3 separate regions of the Homo sapiens genome follow, and all the other regions are linked to region 3. The links are contacts of gene promoters, found by promoter capture Hi-C in blood cells and fetal thymus (Javierre and others, 2016). All regions are on one chromosome and are shown on one strand. The core of a region is centred on a gene start or on the middle of the fragment in contact, and the rest is flanking DNA. Distances in the headings are between cores, read along the strand shown. Region 1 overlaps RIC1 (RIC1 partner of RAB6A GEF complex). Region 2 overlaps JAK2 (Janus kinase 2). Region 3 holds the start of PUM3 (pumilio RNA binding family member 3).

What was found. Contacts are between HindIII fragments. The CHiCAGO score rates a contact against its expected background, and 5 or more counts as called.
Region 1: a fragment that was not itself captured here is called in contact with the fragment with the promoter of PUM3 in region 3 in 1 of 17 cell types (non-activated CD4 T cells); the score reaches 5.0 in non-activated CD4 T cells.
Region 2: a contact is called between a fragment that was not itself captured here and the fragment with the promoter of PUM3 in region 3, in 2 of 17 cell types (fetal thymus and activated CD4 T cells). The highest score is 7.3, in fetal thymus.

What each region holds. Positions count from the first base shown.
Region 1 is chr9:5,630,638-5,634,318 of GRCh38, reverse strand. All of the region lies in intron 1 of RIC1 (RIC1 partner of RAB6A GEF complex), which reads right to left. Among named protein-coding and RNA genes, the nearest start is that of INCR1, 2.8 kb to the right of the region's middle. The HindIII fragment of the contact is 1,214 bases long and covers 1,104-2,317 here.
Region 2 is chr9:4,986,166-4,989,549 of GRCh38, reverse strand. The region is part of intron 2 of JAK2 (Janus kinase 2); the gene reads right to left. Among named protein-coding and RNA genes, the nearest start is that of JAK2, 2.6 kb to the right of the region's middle. The HindIII fragment of the contact is 2,769 bases long and covers 341-3,109 here.
Region 3 is chr9:2,841,753-2,845,650 of GRCh38, reverse strand. PUM3 (pumilio RNA binding family member 3) reads left to right here and starts at 1,556. Exons shown (of 18, transcript NM_014878.5): 1 at 1,556-1,606. RefSeq lists enhancers at 1,225-1,464, 1,288-1,582, 1,966-2,527. The HindIII fragment of the contact is 3,665 bases long and covers 1-3,287 here.

The sequences.
Region 1 (3,681 bases), core at 461-2,960, 2.8 Mb before region 3:
CATGATGGAAAACAGAAGTTCCTCAAACTAAAAACAGGACTACCACATGATCCAACAATCCTACTTCTAGGTATATATCCAAAGGAATTGAAATCAGTATCTCAAAGAGATATCTGCACTTTCATATTCATTGCAGCATTATTCAAAGTAGCCAAGATACAGAAACAACCTAAGTGTCTGTCAATAGATGAATGGATAAAGAAAATGTAACACACACACATACACACATAAAATATTATTCAGCCTTTAAAAAACAAGGAAATCCTGCCATCTGCAACAACATGGACAAAACTTAAGGACAGTATACTAAGTAAGCAAGACAAAAAACAACTTCATGATCTCATATATGGAATATAAAGACGTCAAATTCATAGGAACAGAGAATAGAACGATGATTACCAGGGGCTGGGAGGTGGGTGAAATGGGAGTATTTCAGTCAAAGGTACAAATTTTCAGGTATAAGATGAATACGTTCTGGGGACCTAATGCATGGCCCAGTAACTATCGTTAATAATGACATTTATTTCCATAATTAACATATATTGTATACTTGAAATTTGCTAAGAGAGTAGGTCTTAAGTGTTCTCATCCCACATACAAAAAAAGAGGGAGCTGTGTGAGATGGTGGATCTGTTAATTAGACTGATTGTGATTATCAACTCACAGGGTAGATCTAAGTATCGCACAGCACACCTTAAATATATACAATTTTTATTTGTCAATTATACCTCAACAAAGCTGGCAGTAGTGGGGAAGCAGTAGTTCATCAGAAAAATGAACACTTATGGTTACGGTAGGTAAAGAATGACTCATAAAGAAAGGATTTCAACAGCAGTTAAAGGATAGATAATACTCTGACAGGCAGAAATGAGGCAAGAGAGCATTCCAAGAAGGGAGTGTCTGTGATATCAAACTAAGGAGTTTGAACTCCATTCTTTCATCAACAGTGAACCCTAGAAGACTTCAGAGCAGTGAATTTATAAAGAAGGCTCTCTGGAGAAAGTAATAGAGTTAAAAGGGTGAGAAATGGGAATGCTGGGAAAATACAAATAAAATGGTCTTCCTGAGGTCAACACAGTTAATCACATACCTGATCCAAAGCTTGGTTCTTTTGACATATCATTGTTTTTTTCCATGATTAGCACATACCAATGGGAACTAAGTTTTTGCTCAGGATTACTAAACGACATATAATTTATTTTATAAGCCTAGTAATTATTTGCCCATTTCAGCTTTTTATTAGCTACCTACAACAGTGATATCTCACAAGATTTATATTAACACACTAACATCTAACACACTAACATATAACATGTCTCTTCATCCCTTTTATACACATCTGTCTTTTACAGTTGATGTTCAAAAATACTTCTGAAGCTAATTTAAATGTTTAAAGTCGGTGACCTGAAAAACGAGAATGTCTATACATCTAATTTAGAATGGCTAAATTCAAAGATACCATTCTGATGTTCACATATATAGACTTTCATAGTCACAGTTAGTATATTAAAGGAATAATTCTGGGCCCTCAGTACAGTACAAAATGTAATTCATCTCACACTACACCTACGTCAATCATAAATCATAACCTACCTTATGCAACAGTTTCATCCTCAAAGCTGAAACTAGTCCTTTTACAATAACCTTAGCAGAAATGTACCAACTGCCCCCAGTCAAGTTCTACCTCTACCACCCCAATCTAGCCTACACATACTGAGCCTTTTTTTAACACCATTTGGGGGGCTCCAAAATATAATATTGGGGCTCCAATATAAAAAAGCTAAGTAACTATCTAGAGGCTCTTTTGTTCATAAACAACACTATACTGTATTTCTCAAATTTGGGGTAGGAAATAATTCTGAAGAGATATGAGTCTAAACAGTGGAATTCCGAATACCTACTTAGAATAGAGGACAGTAGGTATAAGTAGTACATAAAAGTTCATTAGAAGACCCATATAATGTACAGTTAGAGATTTTAATAGAGATTCAGTCTTATGAATTATCACTGTACACATACAATTTCCACAATTCTTTTGAACATTGAAACAACCAGCTTAGACTACTAAACGACTGTCCCTTCCACAAGGCTAGTTGTCTCTTTTTAAAATATATCACTCCTAAGAGAGCCTGATTTACTAAGTGAGCCCTAACAAAATTTCAGGTAAGCAAATCTTGTTTTATCATCTCTACGAGCATGTCTCCCTGCCTTCAAATGCCCTCAAGCAGCTGTAAGACTTCAACTCTGTAAAATCCTGTAGATCTTCACATATTATTATAAAACTACTTGTATCTACAGCCTCTCAAAAATCAAAGCTTTTAGCAGCTCCATGAGAACTTTTTAAACCAATTCACTCTAAATTATGGAAGTATAACTGATAGCCCTTTAATTTACCTAAAGGCATTTTCACTTTTAAATGAAGTTTGTTAACCTAATTAACTTACATACTTTCAGGAAGTTTACAAATTAGAAAATCAAAATGAAAACTTTCATACAGAGTAAGAAAGGGCATATCCCAGGAAGAGAAGATTGGAAGCTGGAGTCTAGCATATGTATCCCACTCACCTAGGCATGTAATCATACACCTTATAATCACTTGGTTCAATATTTGATTTTTTTTTTTTTTTTTTTTTGAGACAGAGTCTTGCTCTGTCGCCAGGCTGGAGTGCAGTGGTGGGATCTTGGCTCACTGCAACCTCTGCCTCTTGGGTTCAAGCGATTCTCCTGCCTCAGCCTCCCGAGTAGCTGGGGCTATAGGCGTGCACCACCACGCCCAGCTATTTTTTTGTATTTTTAGTAGAGACGGGATTTCACCATGTTGGCCAGGATGGTCTCGATCTCTTGACCTCGTGAATATCTGATTTTTTTCAGTGACAACAAAGCTGGTGCCCAGAGACCAAGGTTAACCACTCATACTACAGTACTATACAGCCTCCTCTAAGGTATTCCTGCATTTCATTTCACTCCAGACCTCTAAACCCATGGGTTCCCTACAGCCTAACTTTTGCACAACAGAACTTAATAGTAGGGGTCCCTGGACTTCTGTGGAAAAAGGAAGTTGCATGTGAGGTGGGAATTTGAAAGAAGAGTATGAATAGTTTAAATTCCAGAACTGCCTTGGATTTCTAGATGTCGTATGTAACTCCAAAACCAAACAATAGACATGCTTAAGAATATTCACAATGTCCCTAAATTAAAGCATATGTTTATGCTTCTCTTATGGGGGAATAAAGTGGTTTACAGGCTTCTGGTCAATTCATAGGTCATATTGTTTACTTTTATTTAAAATTAAGTTAGGTCTGCCTTTTTAAAGGTAAGAAAAGTTAAATTTTAGACGAAAGTCTAAATTTGTTACATTCAAAAGGAATTATGTATTAAATTCAAAAGACAATTTAAATTCAAGTTCTATTTTTTTCTGCATGTGCTTTAAAGTTGAGTTATATACACCTAAACAAATTAAAAATTATTCAACTGGCATATACATTGTAAACGAATATCTCATTTAGGAACCAGATGATACTTTATATATATTTACACATATGTTTATATATATACACACACACATACATACATATATATTCAAAATACAATCAGGCACTAGACAAAATAGTCATATTGTTGGTATTACGATTTTATAAGTTTGTTTTGTTCTGATTTGCATTTGAAAATTAGATCAGCCAA
Region 2 (3,384 bases), core at 476-2,975, 2.1 Mb before region 3:
CAAATATTTGTTTGGTGACTACAGTTCCTTATCACACAATCAACATGTATTTCTTGAATGCTGCCCATGTGCTCTCCACTGTGTGTTGTGGTTTTTTTTTAATCTAAGGTACTGCTCCTCAAAGAATACACAATCAACTTGAAAAGATATGGCTAACACTAGGGAAATAACTATCAAACAACTAAAGCATGGCATATAATTAAACCATGTGAAAATGTTCTAAGACTAAAGAGCTACAGAAATAGAGGAAAAAAAAGAGGGATGGAGAACATGGGCAAAAATTAAAGGATAGAAGAAGCATAGCTTATTATTAGAAAGTGTGGAAATCAGCTTACAAGCTTAAGGACTAGAGATCCTTAGACAAAAGACTAAATAAATAGGGCAGGGATTGATAATAGACTATCTTAAAAGTCAGGAAAATTTAATAAGTAGAAAATGGTAAGCCACTGAAGGTTTTGGGGCAAGGGAATGCTATAATAAGGAGTATTAGAGTGGAATCTCTATTGAGGATAAACAGAAGGAAGGGACACTGAATTCTCAGAAGTTCAAATGACTTTCAATATTCTAGGCTCAGGAAATGTGTCCTGGGATTCACACAGTAAAGGAGGGAAAGCAGAGATATGAGAAAGAAAGGAAATATGGACATTTTGAATGGGAATAAGAGGTAAATGAAAGAAGTAGTTTAAAGATGATGCCTAATTTAAAGCCTACATGATTAGAAGAAAATTAAGGGGTAGAAAATGGTAACTTTCACTTGGGGCATTCGGAGTTTAAGGAGATGAACAGAAGTAGAAGCAGAAGACCAGTACAGGAAAAACCAGGAAGTGACTAGTACAACAAGTTAGCAATAGGATTAGTTTTAAAATGAAAGAACTGGGCAGAAGTTATAAACATATTACATAGGAGAGGAAATATATTAAGCCATGATCAGCTGGTACTAGCTTTATATCAATAATTTTATCAGAAAAGCAAACTAAAAGCTAAGGCAGAGGTTTCCAAACCCATTCAGGGAGCTCTGAGTCTTAGCAAATTTTTCACGACACCCCCAGGCCAAAAGAAATAGGTTTGAACAACTTACTTAGTAGTTATGTCCTTACAACTTAGTGTAGAGCACTGTAGAACTTATCAAACCTTAGAATCAAATTGGACAATACCACACTGTCATTTCCTGTTCTACATTCATTTTCATGTAGTAGTTGCTTTTTATCGGAGCAACCTCTGAAAATACATCTTTACAAAGACATGACATTGTAGAAACGGGTGTAGGTATCTAATATTGAAACCATGAACCAACTCAAAACACAAGTTCAAGCCTGAGGTGCTCTGGGCACCTTGGCACACAGTTTGGGAAACTGGGAGCTAAGAGGAGGGGTCTAAAAGGGAGTGGGGAAGGGTGGGAAATGTAATGGGAGAAGAGCAAAAGAAAGGTCTTAGCACAGTTAACCACAAGGGGGCAGCACAATAATTGGTAGGGGCAACACAATGGGGGTTTAAGCAGAGACACAAAGTCAAACCTTTCCATACAAAGGCTGTAATACTCCCTCACCAGTTTAAGACCTTGAAGTCCTTTATCTCTTTATACTAGAAAGGAGGAAACACGAGTTACAGGCAGATCACCTTATGCAGTCATTCTGCCCTTCTCTGAATCTCCTTTGCCTCCCAGCCGTGATAGTAGCCAAGACTTTTATGACAGCCAGGCAGTTTACCACTTTGCATGTGTCTTACTCACTTCTCACAACAATCTTATAAGAAAGTGAAGCTAAAAGAGTCGTAAATAATATAACTCTTTTTTTCTTTCTTTTTTTTTTTTTTTTTAGACAGAGTCTTGCTGTGTTGCCCAGCCTGGAGTGCAGTGGTGAGATCTCGGCTCACTGCAACCACCACTTCCCAGGTTCAAGCAATTCTCCTGCCTCACCCTCCCGAGTAGCTGGGATTACAGGTGTGCACCACCACGCCCGGCTAATTTTTGTATTTTTAGTAGAGATGGGGTTTCACCATGTTGGCCAGGCTGGTCTCAAGCTCCTCACCTCAAGTGATCCTCCTTCCTCAGCCTCCCAAAGTGCTGGGATTACAGGCGTGAGCCACCATGACCAGCCGTAAATAATGCAACTCTTAAGTGGCAAGAACACCAGGATTCAAATCCAGATCTCACTCCAAAGCCAATGCACTTTCCTATTCTGCCTCAAAAGCATCCCACCTTTCAGTAATAGCCAGGTGAAAGAGAAACAATGTCATATTCCCTTCCCATATCTGAGACACCTGTCTCAAATCACCAAAGGCACACACACACAAAATTCCCTAATGAGTCCCTAAAACTGCTATAAATTGCAAATACAGGATATTCAGTTAGAGCAAAAACAAGCATGGTGTGCTCTTCTGGCCAGCAAGTACTGCAGCTTTCCTATTCAGGTAAATACATGTACTATTAAGGCAAGTGCTGGATACATCCAGTCTGTACATACGTTACACACCAACAGACAAATGCATGTACAAGCAAATAATTCTCACACTTAAAGTGGTATAAGGTGAGGCGGATGGGGGAAGGGAGGCCAAAAATTGATTATTCATCTTCAAATGTTCTGGGTGTTATATCAAAATACAAGCTGATCATCCCTTATCTGAAAAGCTGCAAAATCTGAAACATTTTGAGCACCAACATGATGCTACAAGGGGAAAATTCCCCGCATAGGTACTTAATACAAACTTTGTTTCATGCACAGACGTATTAAAAATATTGCAAATGACTTAGTGGCTGTGTGAATAAGGTCTATATGAAACAAACGAATTTCGTATTTACACTTGGGTCCCATCCTCAAGATGTCTGATTTTGTATATGCAAACATTCCAAAATTTTTAAAAAAAATCCAAAACACTTTTGGTCCCAAGCATTCTGGAGAAGGGATACAAAATCTTTATTTGCAGTAGCCCAACAACTCACTGTACAAACTTATTATGAAACCAAAAGCAATCATTTCCCTTATTCCCACTTCCAGTTTCCTTCTCCATACTCAGCCGCTCCTACCCTTTCATTCAGAGAAATGGAGTTTCTCCTAACAGATTAGTAATTACTGGAAAACAAACTGGGTAAATTCAACCGACACAGCAAGCTTAGGCAGATAAAACCATGAGGAAACATTCAATGTGGTAGCAGAAACCCCAGCAAGAATAGCTAACGTGTTCTCCCAAAAGCTATCTCTTATTGCTTGGAAATACTCCTCTTTAAAGGATTAAGAATCTCTGGCTGCTTAAGAAGAAAGGGTAATGGACAACGTTTTTCGTTTCTCTGCAAAGTCACGTTATGTGTAAAGCCAACAAAAAAATGTTTCTTAAAGGATCCAAGACGAACAACAAAACACCCCAAAATTACTCTCCCAGATCAACATT
Region 3 (3,898 bases), core at 307-2,806:
GCTATTTGCCCAAAAGGCACAGCTGATGGGCCTCCTGCAATTCCTGTTCCATATTCTCTTCTCTTAGCATTTACTGAATTATTGAAAGCAGTACGGAGGCAGCCACGTTGAGTTTAGAGTCAGGCTCACTGGACCAAAGCTACTATGTTTTGCCTTTCTCTGTAAAATGAGAAAAGACCTATTTAAAACGTTCTTATGAGATTTAAATGAGCTGAAATGTAAACTAGTAACAGTTAAGGTAGACGACAAGAACTTATCAAGTATCTATGTGCTGCATAGTGAGATAAGTGCCTGGAAAGTAATGATGGCCCCTGTCATCAAGAAGCATACAGTCTACTAAATTACCAGTTTCAACTCTAACTCCTTAGTGGCCAGAAAACGGAGTAAGTTGGAAGACAGTAAAATCTGAAGTCTGGCACCAGGGATCAAGTGCCAGTTCCTCAACTTTACAGATGCAGTGGGTTGAATAGTCTCCAAAAGATATGTCTATGTCCTAACTCCCAGGACATGTGAAAGTGACCTTATTTGGGAAAAGGGCCTTTGCAGATGTGATTAAGGACCTCCAGATGAGATGATCTTGGATTATCCCCGTGGACTCTAAATTCAATGTTCAGTGTCCTAAAAACACACAGAGAAGTGGCACAGGCACAGGAGAAGGCCATTAGAAGACAGGCCGAGATTGGAGTCATGCAACAAGAGGCCACGGACCGCCTGGAACCGTTAGAAGCTGAAGAAGCAAAGCATTCTCCCCTAGAGCCTTCAAAAGGTGCAGGGCTCTGCCAACAGCTTGATTTTGGAATTCTTGCCTCTAGAACAGTTAAAGAATAAAATTCTGTTGCTTGACACGAGCAAGTTTGTGGTGTCAGTTTCTTCATCTGGAAAATGGGGCATATATCCTAACCACAATCTTATTTCCTGAAGTATAAAATGGAATAACAGCAGTTTCCAGGCACGAGCAGACACTAAAAATGGCAAACATTTATTGAGAGCGTTCCATGCTAAGCGCTTTGCACGTATCACTTAATTATTTCTATTTTATTGATCAGGAAGCCAAAGCTCATAAAAACTGTAATTTTCCCAGAGCCACACAGCTAGCAAGTGAAAAAAACGGGATTACAATTCAAATCGACTCACAAGATACCCCTTTTATCCTCCACGCTGGACTGCTGAGGAAGTATGCAAATTAACACACTTTAGAAACTTTAGCTACTTCAATATTTGTTCAGGCTACGGGATGCAGGCCTCTTATTAACCGCGCCAGCCAGGTCTGTCCTTCAGCAGCCTGTTCTGCCTCGCAAGAGCTCTCCCTCTCTTTCCAGCACGGAAGCCACAGGGTTAATGACGTCATTTCCCGTGGCCGTTGTCGCGTCCTCCGCCCGACGGATTCTTGCAAGGGCCAAAATCCTCGCGCCTCAAGAGGAGGCATAACAGCAGCGGACCAATAGAAATTCCGAATTTTTGTATTCTCTGGGAAGCTCCACCTCTTAGTCCCTGATCCGCCGCGGAAGATGAAAAAAAGCGGCCCGGGGGCGGAGCAAGGCAAGGAAGCGGAAGCGGAGAGGCGGTCGGGATCCGCTGCGCGAGCTGTCTCGGTCCCACGTGTGCGGTGAGTGTGGCAGGCTCAGCGGTCGCTCTTGGGAGGGGTTCGCACCCTGCCGGGCGCTGGAAGTCGGGAAGGTCTCTCGGGGCTGTTGTCCACTGGGCAGTCTCCTCTGGCCTCTTTCTGGGCTAGGAGTTTGGGACTGACTGGAGCCTGGCAAGAAGGGCGGGACTGGCCGGGCGCGGTGGCTCACGCCTGTAATCCCAGCACTTTGGGAGGCCGAGGCGGGCGGATCACAAGGTCAGGAGATCGAGACCATCCTGGCTAACACGGTGAAACCCCGTCTCTACTAAAACTACAAAAAATTAGCCGGGCATGGTGGCGGGCGCCTGTGGTCCCAGCTACTTGGGAGGCTGAGGCAGGAGAATGGCGTGAACCCGGGAGGCGGAGCTTGCAGTGAGCCAAGATCGTGCCACTACACTCCAGCCTGGGAGACAGAGCAAGACTCCGTCTCAAAAAAAAAAAAAAAAAAAAAAAGAAGGGCGGGACTCCGACCTCTCTCCCACCACGTTGCCCTGCGTGCCGGGTTAGAGTGGACTAGCTTCACTCCGGAATCCCAGCCCGTGCTCGGCCTGATCAGCCTGTCTGTGCTACTTCACAAACCCCAACTCCAGTGCTAGGCGGTTTGCCTGAATGTACGCAGATTCTAAGTGCTGGGAGGAAACGAACTGGATGCTGAGTTGGCAGATAGTGGAGTCTGAAGAAGTGATCTTTAAACGGAGATTTGGAAGCTCAGGGAGTACTTCAAGCAGAGGCGATAATGGGCTAAGTTCCTGAGATGGGAGCTAGGAAGGAGTATAGTTAGAGTACAAGATAAAGTTAGCCGGATAGAGTGGAACTAGGTTCTGTAGGGCCTTGAAGGTCATGATGGGGAATTTTTTTTTCTGTACAATAGGAAAACATTTCCGTTCCTATTACCATGTGTAGAAAACATTGAAGACTTGTAAGCAAGTGAGAATCATGAATAGGCCCTGGTTCTCTTTAGAAAATGTATTACATTTGGAAGCTCAAGAGATTGTATTGGTAATAGTTTGCATTAGGGTGGTGACGTAAGGGACATTTAAGAGAACTAACTTATGGTTCAGCGTGGCAGAGTAGAGAGGAAAATGTCAAGGGTAACTCAGATTTCTTACTTGAGCAGTAAAGTAGATGATGTGCCATTGGCTGAGATGGAGGACGATAGGGCAGGGAAAAATAGTATATTGTTGTTTGTGGGGCAAACAACAATAACATAAAGAACAACATAGAGAATTATGTTTTGGACATATTAAGGGTAAGGTTCCTGTTAGACACATAATTAGAGGTATCAGATAAGCAGTTATACACAAGTTTGGACCCCAAGGAGAAGTTCATAATGGAGACATGATTTGGGAGTACTCAGCATAAAAAGCCAGGAGATTGGATGAGACCACCTAGGGAGAAGTGTGGAGAGAGAAGGGAAGTTCCCTAGGGCAAAGATTTGAGGAATGCTAACATGTAGAGGTTGGTCTATAAGAAAATGTCATTTAAACTGAATTTGAAGGATGGGTAGAAATTGTGTTGGTAGAGAGAATGGCTTTAAACTTCACTATTCTGATAAGAATAGTGGCTCCTGTGTGGTGGTGATGAGTGGGGTGAATTAAGACCACATTTTGAATGGCTGTGAATGCCTGAGTTGGAACTTTTTCCTGAAGGCAGTGGGAAAGCTTTGAAGCTATTGGAGCATGGAAATGACATGAAATAGGTGTGCTACTGGAAGGTTAATCAGGCAGCGGAAAGTGGATCAAAGCAGATAGGATCTAAACAAAACTGAGCAAGAGGTAACAGGAGCCTGAATGGGGTAATAGAGGGAAAGGAAAAAGGGGGGCGAATTCCAAGAGACACTATTGAATGTGATGATTCATTACGAAGGTACAGGGTTCCCAAGCAAAGCAAATTGCATTTTGCCCAGTGCAAAAAGCAAGACTCAAAAAGTTACATATTGTATGATTCCATGTATAAGAATGCCATTCTGGAAAAGACAAAACAGGAGTGAAAACCTAATCATTGGCAGTCAGGAAAGAGGGAAGGAGTTGAATACAAAGGAGCTGTACCAGGGGACTTTTTAGAGTGACAGGACTTTTCTGTAAGATACTGTGGTAGTGGATGCATGAGTCTTAGCCATTTGTTGAAGCCCGTGGAATTATACACCAGAAAGAGTAAACTTGACTATATGCACATTTAATAAATCTGCCAGCATTTCTGGGGATGGAATGCAGGCTGTGACAAATCAGTTAAACTATATTATAAACATGTAACTTCACTAAAGAGGGTGAGGGG